2 separate regions of the Homo sapiens genome follow, and region 1 is linked to region 2. Evidence: promoter capture Hi-C in human tissues and cell types (Jung and others, 2019). All regions are on one chromosome and are shown on one strand. Each heading gives the region's core, a stretch centred on a gene start or on the middle of the fragment in contact. The rest is flanking DNA. Distances are from core to core; before and after follow the strand shown.

Region 1 (5,219 bases), core at 1,520-4,019, 250 kb before region 2:
TATGGATGAATAAATAATTAAAACCCTGAGTTGTGCTACCTCCATTCTATAGATGAGGAAACCGAGGCTTAGAGATGCTAGGTAACTTGCTTGAGATCGCATCGTTCATTTATTCAACCAACTTACTAACCAGCCAACATTTACAGTCTACCCACTGCATTCCACACACATTTAGAGGCACAGTGTTGGGTGGCTTTGGGTTATTTGTTTTTCGAAATACTCTCTATTCCTTTTTTCTTGATGTACCATCTGTTTGCAATGACTTCCCCCATATTGTCACCTTCTAGAATTCAATTTACACTTTAGAATTCGATTCATCATCAGTGGTTGCCAGAGGTTGGTGGAGGGGGTCTATGGTAGAGTCTATGACTCCGAAGGGGGTACATGAGCTAGTATTTGGGGTGATGGAATTGTTTGCTCTGTATGGTCCTGGAGTGGCAGATACATGATTCTATGCATTTGTCAAAACCCAGAGAACTGCACCTCATAAAAAAATAAACTTTAGGCCAGGCACGGTGGCTCACACCTGTAATCCCAGTGCTTTAGGAGGCTGAGGCAGGCAGATCACCTGAGGTCGGGAGTTCGAGACCAGCCCGACCAAAATGGAGAAACCCCGTCTCTACTAAAAATACAAAATTAGCTGGGTGTGGTGGTGCATGCCTGTAATCCCAGCTACTCGGGAGGCTGAGGCAGGAGAATTGCTCGAACCCGGGAGGAGGAGGTTGTGGTGAGCCGAGATCACACCATTGCACTCCGGCCTGGGCAACAAGAGTGAAACTCCGTCTCAAAAAAAAAAAAAACTTTAATGTATGCAAACTGTAAAAAAAATTATTCCTCAAGGTTCTTAACCTCTATGGATGTAATTCAGTGTTTAAATGGTTCCTCCTATACCTTTTACACACTGTCTCTCGCGCTCTCTCTCTTTCTCTTTGACTTCAGTATCCCAGAATGAGGATGGGGAAGAGGAGGCAAGGGTAAGAGTAACATTCTCTGCCTCTGAATACTCATGGCTCCTCTCAGCCCTTCCTGGGTTTCATCCCTCAGGGCTCAAGGTCAGGCCTGGGTCTCCTACTTGGACTTCTTAAAAAATTTTTTACTTTATGATAACTGTAGATTCACAGGCAATTATAAGAAATAATGCAGAGAGATCCTGAATTACCTTCACTTGGTTTCCTCCTAGGGTAACATCTTGTATGACTATAGTACAGCATCACAACCAGGAAAGGGGCATTGGTATAATCCACCTACCTTCTGCAAGTTTTACCAGTGTTACATGTACTGTTAGTGTTGCGTACAAGTGCAAATGCACATTTAGTTCTATGCAACTTTATCACTTGTGTAGATCCACATAACCACCACCATTACCACTGTCAAGATACAGAACTGTTCTGTTTTTGTTTTGTTTTGTTTTTTGAGACAGAGTCTCACTCTGTTGCCCAGGCTGCAGTGCAGTGGTGCCATCTAGGCTCACTGCAACCTCCACCTCCCAGGTTCAAGCGATTCTCCTGCCTCAGCCTCCTGAGTAGCTGGGACTACAGGCATGAGCCACTACACCTGGCTAATTTTTTGTATTTTTAGTAGAGACAGGTTTCACCATGTTGGCCAGGCTGGTGTTGAATTCCTGAGTTCAAGTGATCCACCCACCTCGGCCTCCCAAAGTGCTGGAATTACAGGTGTTAGCCACCGCGCCCAGCCAAGATACAGAACTGTTCTATCACAAAGGTCTCATCTGGACTCTTGATGTTTCTCAACGTGCAACACTTAGGCACATCAGAATCAGTTGAGTCATTTGTTAAATGTGCAGATTCCTCCCAGCTCAGCTGCTGAACCAGTGTGGGGCAAGGAGGCTGGGAATCTGGCCTTTACTTGAACTGGCCGTCATTTCTATCCATCCTCCACTTTGTGGCCGCCAAGAGGATCCTCCTAAGACACAGCTCCCACCGTGTTTTTTCTGCCGCTTAAAGCTGTGTAGTGGCGCCCCCTGCTTTCAGGGTAGAGAAACCAAAGCCTTAGCAAACAAAGCCTTCTCCAGGCCCCACCTCCCTTCTTCCACTCACCCCACCCACTACGCTTCAATCCCTCCAAACCTCTCTAATTCCCAGGACGCCTTTGTTTTCATCAGGCTCATTTTGTTCATGCCGTTCCCTCTGCCTGGAATGTCCTGCCCACTCTTTTCTGCCTATTGCAACCCTATTCCACCACCCATTCTTACAGATGAGGACTTGGAGGTTGAGAGAGGTTTGGTGTCACCCAGCAAGTAAGGGCAGGGCGCAGTGGAGGCCCCAATCCACCTGACTCCCAGGCTCCTGGTCTTACTGTTCGCCAGCTGTAATGGAGGCGCTGGGGGAGGCCATGGTCCCTCTTCGGAGCTGTCTGCTCACCTCCACTTGGGCCTGCCTCCCCATCCACCTCTCAGGCATCTCACCAGGACCGTTCCTCTTCTTCCCCTCCCAGCGAAGCCGGGCAGGGATGAGGGGTCTGAGATGAGGGAGGAAGGGAAATGGGATTGAGCCCAGGGGTAACCTGACTCCCTGCAGTGGGTCGTGTGGGGGCCAGGCACACTACGGAGGGGAAAGCCTGGAACAAATACCGAGGGACTCCCTTAAGCCGGGCCGGCGATGGGGGCTCCTGGAGGGAGAGAAGGAGCCAAGTGGAGTCAAGTCCCTCCCCTGCTGCCCCCTCCCTCCACGGCTCCCTCGCAACCCGAGCCGGGGGGCCTAAAAATAGCCCCCAGGCGCAATCGCCGGCCGCCCCGGTGACCTTCTGGGTAGCACAGGCCGAAGGCGGGCGGGCAGCAGGAAGGCAGGCCGCCGGCCCCCCAGACTTGTCTCCTAGGGCACCGTCCCGCGGGTGCCCCCGTGGCCGCCCAGTTCCGGCGTCCCCCCAGCCCAGCTCTCAGTGGCCATGCAGAAAGCCCGGGGCACGCGAGGCGAGGATGCGGGCACGAGGGCACCCCCCAGCCCCGGAGTGCCCCCGAAAAGGGCCAAGGTGGGGGCCGGCGGCGGGGCTCCTGTGGCCGTGGCCGGGGCGCCAGTCTTCCTGCGGCCCCTGAAGAACGCGGCGGTGTGCGCGGGCAGCGACGTGCGGCTGCGGGTGGTGGTGAGCGGGACGCCCCAGCCCAGCCTCCGCTGGTTCCGGGATGGGCAGCTCCTGCCCGCGCCGGCCCCCGAGCCCAGCTGCCTGTGGCTGCGGCGCTGCGGGGCGCAGGACGCCGGCGTGTACAGCTGCATGGCCCAGAACGAGCGGGGCCGGGCCTCCTGCGAGGCGGTGCTCACAGTGCTGGAGGTCGGAGGTAAAGGGCAGGTGGGGGCCGCGCCCGGCAGGGGCGGGGTGCTCAGAGGTAGAAAAGGGCTGCCCAGGCCACGCGGGTAAGGTACTGGATACTGGTTCCGCCGCCTTCTTCCCAGGTGCCCTGGCTTCTCGGCTGCCCGGCCCCAGAAGTGAGACGAAGAGCCAAGTGCAGGGAATGGGGTGTCAAGGTAGAGAGGCTCCCCACAGGAAGGTCAGAGGTCAAGGGGCAGCAAGCGGTTGATAAGCCAAGCCTGAGACCCACTCCCACCTCTCAGGGAATTCTGGGGTGGAAGTTCTTCTCCTCCTGTGGAGAAAAGCCTCCTGGGGGAAAGGGTGTCCTTCAGTTCCATGATTTAAACTTGAGATTGACACTCCGATCAGCTCCTTAACAGGGGAGTCCATGTCCGAAGGAGGGGGCCAGCTCCTCTGGTCCAGGCTGCACTGTTGAAGGGATGGCTCAGAGCTCCCTGCAGGCCATTGCCGTGGCAGGGTTGATGTGGTCAGCTCTAGGTGGGGTGTGGAAGAGGCCTATGGTTGGCCACGTGTGAACAGGGTCCAGGGTAGGAGGAGGTGGAGCCCGAGCCAGGGCCCCATGGGCATGAATGGAGGTGAGTGCTTGAGAATCCACATGCAGGTGTGTGCCTGCATGGGTGCTGTGGAGGGCCCTGGATTCTGTGTGGTGGTGCAAACAGGTGAGGTATGGGCACGTGGAGCTGGAATGGGAAGCTCCTGGACCATGTCTACCTGAGCTTCCAGAGTGGATGTTTCCAGAGCATGGAAGGGGGATGCTATGGACCAGTGCTTGTCCCCCGCCCATAGATTTCCAGGTGCAGTGTGAAGAAAAGGCTGAGGGTCTGAGGCAGAAGGGGAGGGCAAGAGGCTGGGCCCAGTGCTCATGGTCCAGCTGGGGCTACCATGGAGGCCAGGCCAGGGCCGTTAGCCTTGGATCCATTTGGGGGCTTCCTTTTTGATTTCCTCAGTCCTTGAGTAAGCCAAGTGGTACTTCTCTAGCCAAAGGCAGAGCCTTGGGCAGGCTGCGCCTTGAGAAACAGAATTCTGAGGAAGTAGGCTACAGCTGGGAGAGATGGCAAGGAGCTGGGGGTTCACTCCCTTGGACGTTTCTAAGAGGGACATGTCACTCCCCTGGGTGCTGCTGTGTAGGGGTAAATCCTTGGAGGCTGGGGAGGAGGCACAGGGAGGAAAGCCCTCAGCAGCAGGTGGGCAAGAAGTCTCTAGGACACAGCCAAGTCAGGAGAGGGAGCCGGGCTGGCCTCCCTCCATCGGCATCTCCTCCCCCCAGCCCTGCTCTGCCCACCTTCCTGGAGTCTCTGTGGCCAGGCCTGGGCCAGAGAGGGCCAAGGCTGGCGTCTCCTGGTTGGCCTAGCACCTGGACAAGTACAGGCCTCCCGAGCCTGGGATCAGGGGATGGGGTGCATTCTAGCAGACTTCGGAGCTGGGGAAGGTGTGGACTCCTTGGGGATCTCAGCTCTGGTCCCCCCAGGGGCAAAGAGGGCTGAAAATAGAACATAGATCAAAGGGTAAGATAGATGAGTTGATGAGAATATGACTGGGGGAGAGATTAGGGAAGGGAACGAAAGAGCTGACAAGGAGAGTAACAGTCATAATATAAGTTAAGGTTGGAAAGGACCACAGAGAACTGCAGCTCCAAACACATCCTTTCACAGGCAAGGACACTGTGGGCCAAAGATCAGGGAGCTCTGCCTAAGACGTACTAGTCTAGTTAGAGACATAGCTAGTTATGGCCATCCCAGAACTAAGAACCCAGTCCTCCTGGTTTTGGTTCTGGGGGCCTTGTACTCCTCAAGAAGTTCTGGAGAGAGAGGAAAGAGCGAGAGAGGGAGGGAGAGTACTGGGAAAGTAGCTGTCACATGATTGGCCCAGGCCTGGCATTTCTCAAGATGGATGTC
Region 2 (5,826 bases), core at 1,569-4,068:
TGTTTTAGCAGATTGCTGGAAAGAGGAGGCAGGGAGACAGCCCAGGTCTCCTCTGGGCTCCCGCACACTGTGCTGGTGGTGGCGGTGGCAGCCCCTTGTGCTCTCCTTTCTCTTTCGCCTCTTATCCATGTATCTGGCCTTGACAAGATCACCATTGGCCTGGGTTGGCTGATTCCCGATCAATTCACCACAGACAGAGAGATCTGGGGACCTCTGAATCACAAGTGTGGGCAGGGTCTCCACCTGAAACGTCACCAAGTGTTTGATAGCCTCAAGGGGCCACAAAGAGTGAGGGTGAGTTCCCCAAAGGGTCAGGAGAAGACAGTGGGTAAAGCATCCTGGGTAGACTAAACCACAGTCTTCTATAAGCAGGTAATTTAGGTGCAGCTGAGACAGACAGGTAGTCAGGGCTCGCCGGAGCGGCTCGGATCCACCTACGCACTGGGAGGAGGGTGGAGCCACGGAAGCTCGCACTATTTGCAGTGGGGAGGAGCTTGGCCTCTCCTGTTCTGGGTTGGTACCCTGGGGATTCAATCTGTGAGGCAGGAAGCCAGCTAGTAGGACTTTCACTTTGTTGGGAGTTCCTATTTCCTTTTTTTCCTCTTTGCCCAATAAATTCAATTTTTCTCACCCTTCAAAGTGCCTGTGAGCCTAATCTCTCCTGGCTATGTGACAAGGACCCCGTTTTTAGCTGAACTAAGGAGAAAGTCCTACAACATAACTAGATGAGGTTACGGCAGGCACTAAATCTGCCCCGAGTGCTTGACTCAGCCTCACTTGATCCGCTGCAACAGCCTCCCCTCTGGACTGAGATGGTGAGCATCAGCCAAGGCAGGACTCGGCACACGGTGCAGTCAGCAGCCTCTCCAGGGACATGCCAAGGTTTCCAGGAGGCCAGTCTTTGCTGGAAATTTCTCAGTGACCACTTTTCCCCCTTTCTTTCTTTCTTTTCTTTCTTTCTTTTTTTTTTTTTTTTTTTGAGGTGGAGTCTCACTCTGTTGCCCAGGCTGGAATGCAGTGGCGTGATCTCGGCTCACTGCAACCTCCACCTCCCTGGTTCGAGCAATTCCCCTGCCTCAGCCTCCGGAGTAGCTGGGATTACAGGCGCACGCCACCACGCACAGCTAATTTTTTTTTTTTTTTTTTTGTATTTTTAGTAGAGACAGGGTTTTGCCACGTTGGCCAGACTGGTCTCAAACTCCTGACCTCAGGCTAACTGCCTGCCTCGGCCTCCCAAAGTGCTGGGATTACAGGCGTGAGCCACCGTGCCTGGCCTTCCCCCTTTCTTTACCTGCCTTCCTGTTGGATGGATACATGGCTATTTTCTTACTGTTAGAGACACATTCTCTCTCTCTCTCTCTCTCTCTCTCTCTCTCTCTCTGTCCATCTCTCCTCTCCCTTTGTCTCTCTCATTAAAGCAAATAACATAGCAGGAGGAATGGGAAAAGTAGCAAATCCCAGGCTAGTCTCATCATTTCTGGGCTGAAATGGAACCACTTGTGGTGTGTGGAATCGTGGCATCCGGCATGCCACATTCCCTGCTCCCTGTTGTCCTGCCCTGTCTGTCTGCTACAATCACCTGGAGCCCCTCCCTCAACCAAGACATCAACAACAGAAACAAAACTGCTTCCTCTGACCAGCAGGAAATTTCCAGGTGAACACACTCTGGCTTAAGTAATTAGGCAAAGAATGTGGCTTTGTGCAGTTGTGGAGAGACTCAACTTGCTCTTAGAGTCTTTGTTTCTGTTCAGTCCCTGGAGTGCCCCTGCTTTCACTGCTGTCCTTTGCCACTAGACCGGGCAGAAATCCGCCTTTTTCCTGCATTCCTTCCACTGTTGTTGATTCAGCTCATTTTACATACCAAGGCACCTTTCCTGATTCCATTCTTTGGCCAAAGACTCCCTCAGAACTTTAAGAACTTTAAGCCACCAAATGCAGCAGGCACTTTTTTTTTTTTTTTTGAGATGGAGTCTCGCTCTGTTGTCCTGGCTCACTGCAACCTCCACCTCCTGGGTTCAAGTAATTCTTCTGCCTCAGCCTCCCAAGTAGCTGGGGCTATAGGCGAGCGCCACCACACCCGGCTAATTTTTGTATTTTTAGTAGAGATAGGGTTTCACCATATTGGCCAGGCTGGTCTCGAACTCCTGACCTCGTGATCCGCCTGCCTTGGCCTCCCAAAGTGCTGGGATTACAGGCGTGAGCCACGGCGCCTGGCCAGCAGGCACCTCTTATGCTTGCTTTGAAAATATACTTATGAGGTTAGTGCCCATCTTCCTGTCTTATGATTCGAATCCTTTCCTTCTTTCTTCCCTAATTCCTGTTCTTTTTCTCTCATGACCCCTGGCTACCCATTAGCCTTTGGAAAAATTCTATTATGTTTGCCTGTTTGTTTTTTTCTTTTTAATGTATATGTTACCAGAAAGGGGTCCCAATCCAGACCCCAAGAGAAGGATCTTGGATCTCACACAACAAAGAATTTCAGGCGAATCCACAGAGTAAAGTGAAAGCAAGTTTGTAAGAAAGTAAAAGAATAAAAGAATGGCTACTCCATAGACAAAGCAGACCCGAGGGCTGCTGGCTGGCTATTTTTATGGTTACTTCTTGATCATATGCTAAACAAGGGGTGGATTATTCATGAGTTTTCTGGGAAAGGCGGGGGGTGGGAGGATTTCCTAGAACTAAGGATTCCTTTCCTTTTAGACCATATAGGGTAACTTCCAGAGTTTGCCATGGCATTTATAAGCTGTCATGGTGCTGGTGGGAGTGTCTTTTAGCATGCTTATGTATAAGTAGTGTACAATGAGCAGTGATGATGACCAGAGGCCACTTTTGTCACCATCTTGATTTTGGCAGGTTTTGTCCAGCTTCTTTACTGCATCCTGTTTTATCAGTAGGGTTTTTGTGACCTGTATCTTGTGATAATGGTCCTGCCAACCTCCTGTCTTTTTTTTTTTTTTTTTTTGAGACGGAGTCTTGCACTGTTGTCCAGACTACTGGAGTGCAGTGGCGCAATCTCGGCTCACTGCAAGCTCCGCCTCCTGGGTTCATGCCATTCTCTTGCCTCAGCCTCCCGAGTAGCTGGGACTACAGGCGCCCGCCACCATGCCCAGCTAATTTTTTGTACTTTTAGTAGAGACGAGGTTTCACCGTGTTAGCCAGGATGGTCTCGATCTTCTGACCTCGTGATCCGCCCACCTCGGCTTTCCAAAGTGCTGGGGTTACAGGTGTGAGCCACCGCGCCCGGCGTAACCTCCTATCTCATCCTGTGACTAAGATTACCTAACCTCTTGGGAATGCAGCCCAGCAGGTCTCAGCCTCATTTCACCCAGCCACTGTTCAAAATGGAGTCACTCTGGTTCGAATGCCTCTGATGTGTACAAATCTATTGTGCTCATTGAAGCTTGCCTTTTTATACACTTCTTGGCTCAGAGAAATACTTTTTTTGGAGGCAGCAAATGTAGCAGAAAGAACAGGCAATTCTGAAGCAAGAAGAGTGATATGGTTAGGCTTTGTGTCCCCACCTAAATCTCATCTTGAATTGCAAACCCCGTCATCCTCACAGGTCAAGAGAGAGACCAGGTGGAGGTAATTAAACCACGGAGTGGTTTCCCCCATGCTGTTCTCGTGACAGGGAGTGAGTTCTCACGAGATCTGATGGTTTCATAAGGGGCTCTTCCCCCTTCATTCGGCCCTTCTTCCTCCCACCTTGTGAAGAAGGTGCCTTGCTTCCCCCTCACCTTCTGCCGTGATTGTAAATTTCCAGAGGCCTCCCCAGCCATGCTGCACGGTGAGTCAATTAAACCTCCTTCCTTTATAAATTACTCATTCTCGGGAAGTTCTTTATAGCAGTATGAAAACAGACTAATACAAAGAGTTTTCTGTGTTAACTCCCGGCACCGTCACTCACTGTTGTGACCTTGGGCAAGTTGCTTAAGCTCTCTGTGTCTGTTTCTTAATCTGTACAGTGGGTATGATATTAATACCTATCTCATAGGTATTTTTTTTTTTTGGTCTTAAATGATTCATGGGAAAAGTATGATGTATGCTGAGAAGCAGCACAAAGACATTTCATGTGTGCGGACCTCATGTACGTGGACCATGTGGAAGGCAGCTTTAGTCCTGACTGCAGAAAAGCGATGTTCACATGCGCGTTGGGAACTGGCCTGCGCACCCAGATTCCCAGATCCAGGAAAGCCCTTCATTTCCAGTGCTTTCCATCCTCGCTCCAGCGGCAGATGTTAGAAGCTGACTGAGATGTTTTCTGGATTAATTGCCCCCAAACATTCAGGGTTTTATGTTTTAGAATGTCTGAACAGGTTGGAATTTGAATCTCCCTTCTGCCACTCCTTGTCTTATTTTGGAAATGAACTTAAAGTCACATTTTTGAGATTCCGACTATGTGACGCATTGAGCTATTTGGAGCGTTGGTTTGCGGCTGTTTCTAAGCCTGGACTCTTGACACGGCTTTGCCTGCAGCTCTGGACTCTCCCTCAGGCTCCAGGGCTCCCTGTGCCCTTGCGGTGCTCCGGCCTCTTGGCTTCTGAGTTAGATTGGGCATCTCTCAGATTCCTTGGCTACTGAGTCTGTACATCCCATGACTCCCGTCCTCCCTCTCCTTCCACAAGCCGGTCGGTGACCACGCAGCCTTCTAGGTGGTCCAAACTTTCTGGAGCTTTCCACTGGGAAGATCCTAATAGCCCTAATCCCTCCTTTAACATCAAGCAGAGCTGCCCTCAATCTTTTAATAGAAGCAGGTGAACTCCGACTAGATTTTTTGTGCACTAGTGAGGCTTGCTGTGTTTACTGGTATATAGGATACATTCCCCGCTTTTCCCAAATGATGGATTATATATGCAAAATAAAATTTTATACTTTATATATGAATAATGTATATGTTACAACATAAGATATATTACGTATTACATAATACTATACACATAACATATATCAAATATATGGCATTGTACGATATCTAATCGTTTATTATATACACAAGTTTTCTTGTCAGTCTTACGCTTTGGTATCAGGCACAGCTGGAAGGCTGAGAAAGAGGTAAAATAATGGGGCATGCTACCCCCTAGTGGCAGAAGATGGCAACATACATTTTGCAAATGTGAGCGCTTTTCATCCCCTTATCAAAAAACAAAACAAAAACCAGAGACCACACAGATGAATATGGAATTTGAGTAACTCCCCTATGTTATGAATTTAAGTATTTTTTCACTGCAACTCATATTCCTAAATACCAAGATATTTCTTTTTAGCTCTGTGATTTTATTCTTGTTTTTAGGGATACTAGACTGTGTATCAAAACCGTACTATTTTTTAATGGAGTCACAATCCTGTGTACTATATTTATAGGAATAAAATATTTCCCTTACAGCTTAGTCTTTATTTTTCCAAAAAACTTTCTGAAAAATTGAGATGTATCTGATATCCCCGCGCATTTCACATGTTGGCAAACATGGCATTTTACTGCCTCTGGTGCACAAAAAGCCCTTGAGCGCTCACCTAATGCTTCTGTGAAGTCAAGGGTTCCGAGCACGCTGACTCCATGTTGCTAGGGAGCCTCTCTAGGAGGCCAGCAGGCCGCTGGGCGGCCCCGACTGGGATCTGCTGTGGTATGTGGCCCTCTTTGCTAGTGCAGGAGCTTCCTCCGGTCACTTTACCTGCATTCCTTTGAGCCTGGGGCCCAGGCGGGGGACCCTAGCAAGAGGCTTACTTACGTGGTCCCCTGATACCAGGCATGGGAATGGTAGCACTTGCTGATTGTGTGGGTCTCTGGCCACAATGGAAATATTTAACACACAACACCTTAGAGTGGAG

The links. Contacts are between HindIII fragments. The study calls those that stand out against the background at their distance.
Region 1: the fragment with the promoter of SPEG here is called in contact with a fragment that was not itself captured in region 2 in 2 of the 25 tissues and cell types used here (H1 embryonic stem cells and dorsolateral prefrontal cortex).

Annotation. Positions count from the first base shown.
Region 1 is chr2:219,432,074-219,437,292 of GRCh38, forward strand. SPEG (striated muscle enriched protein kinase) reads left to right here and starts at 2,770. Exons shown (of 41, transcript NM_005876.5): 1 at 2,770-3,292. The coding sequence starts at 2,905. RefSeq lists an enhancer at 1-166. The HindIII fragment of the contact is 17,008 bases long and covers 1-5,219 here.
Region 2 is chr2:219,684,795-219,690,620 of GRCh38, forward strand. It overlaps the pseudogene DNAJB6P3. Among named protein-coding and RNA genes, the nearest start is that of LINC02832, 42 kb to the right of the region's middle. RefSeq lists enhancers at 1-416, 1-116, 2,937-3,500, 3,181-4,380, 3,501-4,064 and 1 more. The HindIII fragment of the contact is 9,661 bases long and covers 1-5,826 here.